Linked DNA regions of Homo sapiens: region 1 is linked to region 2. The links are contacts of gene promoters, found by promoter capture Hi-C in human tissues and cell types (Jung and others, 2019). All regions are on one chromosome and are shown on one strand. The core of a region is centred on a gene start or on the middle of the fragment in contact, and the rest is flanking DNA. Distances in the headings are between cores, read along the strand shown. Region 1 overlaps TSGA10 (testis specific 10). Region 2 holds the start of ZAP70 (zeta chain of T cell receptor associated protein kinase 70).

The links. The method cuts DNA at HindIII sites, captures the fragments that hold promoters and counts their contacts. A contact is called where the count stands out against the background at its distance.
Region 1: a fragment that was not itself captured here is called in contact with the fragment with the promoter of ZAP70 in region 2 in 1 of the 25 tissues and cell types used here (dorsolateral prefrontal cortex).

Annotation. Positions count from the first base shown.
Region 1 is chr2:99,106,445-99,109,949 of GRCh38, forward strand. TSGA10 (testis specific 10) reads right to left here. Exons shown (of 21, transcript NM_025244.4): 6 at 2,945-3,068; 7 at 2,389-2,547. The coding sequence starts at 2,995. Among named protein-coding and RNA genes, the nearest start is that of C2orf15, 34 kb to the right of the region's middle. The HindIII fragment of the contact is 7,771 bases long and covers 1-3,505 here.
Region 2 is chr2:97,711,908-97,714,941 of GRCh38, forward strand. It overlaps ZAP70 (zeta chain of T cell receptor associated protein kinase 70), which reads left to right and starts at 1,669. Exons shown (of 14, transcript NM_001079.4): 1 at 1,669-1,767; 2 at 2,009-2,087. RefSeq lists an enhancer at 1,477-2,450. The HindIII fragment of the contact is 22,881 bases long and covers 1-3,034 here.

The sequences.
Region 1 (3,505 bases), core at 61-2,560, 1.4 Mb after region 2:
CTTTCTCCCCTGCCTTCAGTCATGTACAGTGCTCCCTTATCTTGAAAACCTGTCACTTGATCCTGCTGACCAATTTACCATCCTATGTCTCTTCTTCCTGCGACACATTAAAAAAAAAAAGTCCCATGGTCTATAACTATTGCCAATGGTTCCTTACCATCCATTCTATCACCCCAGAACAACCTGGCTCCCACCCTCCCACCTTCTGTGGAATTTCAACTAAAGACCTAACCAAATATAATGGTCTTTTCTCAGTTCCTGTTCTCCTTGATATTTCAGTGGTCTGTTGCTGCTCACAACATCCTTCTTCTTGAGATTCCTTCCTCCCTTTTAACATTGTTCCTCCCTAGCTGTCTGTCATCTTTGTCTCTTTCAAAGGTTCCCTTCTGCATCTTGAATATTATAACTTAACGTTTCTGCTCCTCTATGTACAGTTTTCTCATTCAGAGACTTCATCCACTCTGAAGGCTCGAAGCTCACCTCTAAGCAGATGACTTCCAAAGCTAACTATTTAACTCTTGCCTCTCTCTACTCCAGTCCCACATTTCTTACAGTCTGATGGCAATTACGACCTGAGTGTGCTATCATTATCTTACTCTGTCTAAAAACAAACTCACATCTTTTTCCTCAAACCACCAATGACTCTCCTATTTTTTATTTTATTACCACATTGCTGAGTCATTCAAGACAGAATTTTAGTCACTGTCATGCAACCCTCCTTCTTCCTAAAAGCAAATCATGTCAAATCTTCCTTCACAGGGTCTTTTGCATCTGTCCCTATATTTATCTCCATTGAAACACCCTTGCTTAGTCCCTTAATGCCTTATATGTGCACTAGTGTAACAGCCTTCTAAAGAGGAGTCCATGGTCTCTCCCTCCATCAATTCTCTCAAAGGAGAAATTGTTAAATAAGAAGACAGTATAGAAAGATTATGTGAGAAATAAAAATTTGCCATAAGGTTAAAATTGTAAAATTGTAAAAATGATACTTTGTTCATATTTTGCCTGCCTTTAAAAAAAAAAGATTGTTTGTTGCTTATGAAGCAAAATATAAACCCCATATAAGGCCCATTGAACAGCCTGTACCATTTAGTCCAGAAGTCAGCAAGCTATATATAACTCACAGGCCACATCTAGCCTGCCTCCTGTAGGTCTGTAAGTGGAGAAATATTTTTGCATTTTTAAATGGTTGGGGAAAATATCAAAAGAGTATTTTAAAACAAGTAAAAATGATGTGAAATTCAAATTTCAGTATCCATAAAGTTTTACTGTAATACAGCCAAAGTTATTCATTTATGTATTGTCCAAAGCTGCTTTCACCCTACAACAATAGGGCTGATTAGTTACAACAGAGACCACATGGCTTGCAAAGCAGAAGATATTTTTTGTCTGGGCCTTACAGAAAAAGTATATTGATTCCTGCTCTAGTGCAATCTTACCTTTCAAGTCTTAGCTCTCTCCCTTCTCCACTGACACATACCCTCTATTCTAGTCTTAAACCAATTTATTTATCTGCTGATTTTCCTACCTTTATCCTTTGCCTCATACCATTCCTTTAGTTTGGATTGTTCCTTCTAGCCCCTTTCAGGGTAATAGAAACTCCATTCATTTTTCAGGGCTCACACTTTGTATCTTTTAATAAAGATTTCCTTGATCACCATATCTAAAAATGCCCACTTCTTTTGTTTCTTATAATATCTTCTAGACCACTTAATAAAAATCAATAAATACAATATACTTTATCTCCCTAACTAGACTGTAAATTTATAGGAAAACATGGTCAGCATCTTATCATTTTTCTATCCCTTAGAGTAGTGAGCCTAGAACCCTGTGTATAGTAGCTATAATTTGTTAAAAAATTGTGATACTTTTAAAAGAAGTTATATGGGTGATTTATAGGATTTAATACTTGTTGGGTTAAAGAAGGTATTTGATTAATAAAAGCTATGCAATTCTAAGCTAGAAAGCAGAGATAAACTACATACTTCTTTTATTCTCTAAAATTAAGCAAATTATATAAAAGTTCCTAAAGTGATGTGATAAGGTGTGGCAAGTTCAAGGTAAAAAGGTCAGGATTTGATCTTTTTACCTTGAACTCATAACAACTTATCATTTAACGGTTTCTTCATATCTTATTCCAAAAATAAGACTATTTTTATACATGTGTATGATTTTTGGCTATGGGGATAACATACGTGTGTACTCACATACCTACTGTATTGGAAATGTACTACATTTCATTAAGAATATCTTAAAAACATATGTAATCCCCAAATGTTAGATTAACTTGATTTGCAGGTTTAAGCAGTCTCATAAAACTCAAAGAAGAATTACATAACTCTAGAACTCAATGTTATTACTTATATAATTTGTTTTTTGTAAGTTTACCTGTTCATAAAGAAGGAAGATCTTGTCTCTCTCAGATTTAAGAACCTTGACATTACCCTGAATTTCTGCCAAATGGCGCTCATATTTTTCCAGCATGCATTTAAGTTCTTCACGATCTCTTGTTGTTGTCTTCAAAAGTTCTACATCACAGTTTGCACCCTATAATTATATAAGGAATTTGAAATCTTCTTTGATATATAGTACTGATAGAAAGGTGCTACTGATGGTAGTGCCCAATTTCTATTTAAGAAAATAAGACTATATAATGAAAGGAAATTATAAAAAATAAGTTTAAAAACCACATCTTTTTAAAACAGCTTCATTCCAAATTATTCCACATTTGCCTGATTACCTCCCAAGTGCTAATTATGCTGAGGATAAAGAACCAATATCAGTAGTCTACTGTGCCATCAAAGAGACCTCTGTCTCTCAACCCCTTTGAAACAGCAATTCACAGCAAATCAAAACAAATTATTTTCAAATTAGGTAAAACAAAGAATAAAAGCCAGTGTCTGGGCAACAAACTCCAAAATATTTGTAAGTTTATAAAACCTACCCGGGCAGTTGGTGATGGGCGTCTTGGACTTTTAGACCTACTTCGCATCATCTTTCTCAAATGTTGAGCTTCACTCTTATAGTGATCTTTGTCTGCTTCCAAAGTCTTGACAAAGGAATCAAGTCTAGAAGGAGATTTATTTTGTGCTTTTTCAGTATCTAAAATTATCTTGCCAAAGAGGAAAAAATTAGACCATTATTTCAAGCTAAACTATAGCATCATTTTCTAAGTGAAATTGAAAACAAACAGGATCCTTAAAAACATTTAATTTGGTATTTTTTAAATACAACATTTAAAAAATTATATATCAGTAATTTTTAAAAAGCAGTTAGATATCTTTCTTTTCCAGGATTTCTGGGTATGCTATATTTTAACTGAAAGATAATTTTGGAGAAAAAATGGTAAAGAAATTTTAGAGAGGCCAGAAATGTCCACAGACCTAGCACACATCCTAGAAATGGCATGGATTTGCTTTAGAAAAACATATGCTACTAGGCTGGGCATGGTGGCTCATGCCTGTAATCCCAGCACATTGGGAGGCCGAGGCGGGCAGATCATGAG
Region 2 (3,034 bases), core at 419-2,918:
GGGTGTGAGGGGATCCTCAGGCAGACTGGGGAGCTGAGCCTGTTGTAACCGAGCGAGTTACAGAGAAACGCCGCACTTTGAGACGAATTCAGGGGTCCTTTATTAGCTGGCGACTGAGAGACAGCTAGTGCTCAAAATTCTCTCAGCCCCAAAGAAGGGGCTTGATTTTCTTTTATACTTTGGTTTAGAAAGGACAGGTGGGGGTCTAAAACAATCTTACAGAAGTAAAGCAGGCAAAAAGTTAAAAGGATAAATGGTTACGGGAAAGCAAACAGTTCCAGGTGCAGGGGCTTAAAATCTATCACAAGGTGATAGACACGGGGCTTTGGGCGTTATCAACCGGACACAAACGCCGGGGCTCTGGGTGCTATTAACCGGGCGAATTCCTGGGAACTGCGGATATAGCTTGCCACAGTATCTTATCAGTTAATTGCATTCTTGGATGTGCTGGGAGTCAGCTTGCACAAATTAAGTCCTTGAGGAAGCGGGGTGGGTAAGGGGCTGCAAATGAAAGAGCCAAGATGGAGTCTGTCTGGCTCTCTTAGCTAAGGGAGAGTCAATTCAGGTTAAAACAAGGTAGGGTATCACAAGCCCACTTAACAAGGGCAGCAGGACCCCAAGAAGAAAAGCTTTAGGAGTCTCCACAGTGGGCCCAGGGCAGTTCCACACAGGTCTCTGAGGCCCCACAGACAGGAGAGCTGTGACGACTCCCTTAGTGCCCAAGAAAGCAAGGAGGTGGTGGGCAAGGGGCTCCCAGAGGCCTTGGGGCACTAGAGGGGAGATGGAGCCGAGGGAGTGGCTCTGCAGGCCCCTCTCTGAGAGAGTGCATGAGGTGTGGCCCCAGGCCCAAGGGTAGGGGGTGCACAGGGTGAGGGAAGGGAGGAGAGGAAGAGGAGGAGGAGGTGGTGGCCACAGCGGGATGGCACTCAGCCAGGTTCAGCTTCGTGGGAAAGGTCCCAGGTGGGCCGGGCTAGCACTGGGGATGCCCTGGCTCTGTGTCTCGGTTGGGTGGCTGACTCCTCCTGGAACGCATCCCTGACATCCTCCAGGCTGGCTTGGGGATACTCTGGGGACACACAGTGCCCAGGCTTCCGGCCTCCCAGCCCTGGCTCCCTGTGGACTCAGCTGCCCCCAACAAGCCTGCGAGCCACTGGAGAGCAAGGGCAGGCTGTCCTTGCCATCCAGATGCCTGGCACAGAAGGGGTTCTCACCTTCGGGGTATGGGCTGACTCAGTGGGTTTCTCCTCCCTCCAGCTCTAACCTGCCTGTGGAATAAACAAATCACTCCTCTGGGTTGTCTAGCTGGTGCAGGCCCCAGGGCGACGCCCCTTTGAGGGGAAAATGGGGGCATTCCAGTTTCCATGAGCCCTGGGACTCCCCTCCTTCCCACCACTGCTGCCTACCCTCCGGTTCCAGGTATGCAGGCTTCCTCCCTTCTGACGGTTCCTGCTGCTGGAGTCGTCCTTCCTGAAACCCTGCCTTTGCTTAGCCTCATTCCCATCTCTCAGTCCCATCCTGCAGCTGGGCAGGCAGTGCTGGGCCCCGGAAATGCCCTCTGCCTCCCTGGAGCACGTGGCCTGTGATTTTCCTTGAGCACAGCACTTTGTGACTTTGATGTAAACATCAAACACAGCCCCCTTTCCTGTCTTCGCATCCAGGAAATAGGTTAGTTTCAGACAAGCCTGCTTGCCGGAGCTCAGCAGACACCAGGCCTTCCGGGCAGGCCTGGCCCACCGTGGGCCTCAGAGCTGCTGCTGGGGCATTCAGGTAAGCGGCTGTCCTCGGGCCTTCTGCCTGTGTCCTGCCACCAGGGCCACCCCAGGGGGCTCTGGGAGACCTGGCAGAGGATGAACCCCCCCCATCCATGAGTGAGAAACCCTGGCGGGGTGTGACATCCTCCCCCGGGGTGTGTGCGGAGAGTGTGAGCGGCAGGGCCTCCCTCTCAGGCTGGGGGCTTGGGCTGCAGGGAAATCCAAACCGGCTTTGTAAGCCCCGATTCCTCACCCAGAACCGGCTCTCCATTGGCATTGGGACCAGAGACCCCGCAAGTGGCCTGTTTGCCTGGACATCCACCTGTACGTCCCCAGGTAAGTGGTGCCTGGGTGGAGTGGCACCTGGCCACCGTCTCCATGGTGGGCTGTGTCTGGAGGAGGAAGACAGAATATTAACTGGGAGTCAGGAGGTTGCTGGGAGGACCAGGAGAGCTGGAGGACTGGGCTGGGTGGTGACTGGCTGGAGATGGAGGCAGACGGGGCTTGTGGCCACGCTGAGGGAAGCAGCTCCCCCTCCAGAGGCTTGGCCGAGCGGGGCTGTTCAGGGGACACGGTGAGGCCTGCTCAGTCCCTGGGCTCCTGCTGGGCCCTGTTTGGCTGCATCCTTGGCTCTCGGAGGCAGAGAAACCTCCAGAGAAAGCGCATGTGCACTCTGTGAAGATGAGGGGGCTGCTCACCAGGGCCGTGAGCTCCATCAGCAGAATGCTGTGATTCCTGTGAGGAGTCCAGGGCAGGCTTGAGCCACTTGTAGGCGAGCTCAGGTTAGAGGAAGACCTGGAGAGAGAAAGAGCAAAACACCGAGTTCTCCTCAACTGCTGTGTGTTCTCGGCAAGTTGCTTGGCCTCTCTGACCTCAGTTTGTGCATCTGTTAAATGCACATGCAGATATGGGCACCTGGCAGGCGCCTGGTTCCTGACTGTTGGCGAGAGGCTGGGAAATGTGTCCCAGGTAGGAAGCATCCCCGACAGGAAGGAACAGGAGTTCATGAGGTGAGCAGCTCGAGATGATTCATTACTCTCGTCTTGGTTGGAACAGTAGGCAGACAGGAGGTGTTTAATAATGCCTTGCTGAGAGATCAGGGTCAGGGACTCCTAAGGTGCCACCTGTGAAGCTGCCTCCTGCTGAATCCAGAGCTTCCTTTTCCTCTTCACACCTGCCCTCCATCCTCAGCCCCACTGCCCTGGCAGTGTTGCGGGGGTGGTGTTGATGTGCACACTCTGGAGCCTGGGGGCCTGGCTTCACATTCTGGCTCTGCCACTCAC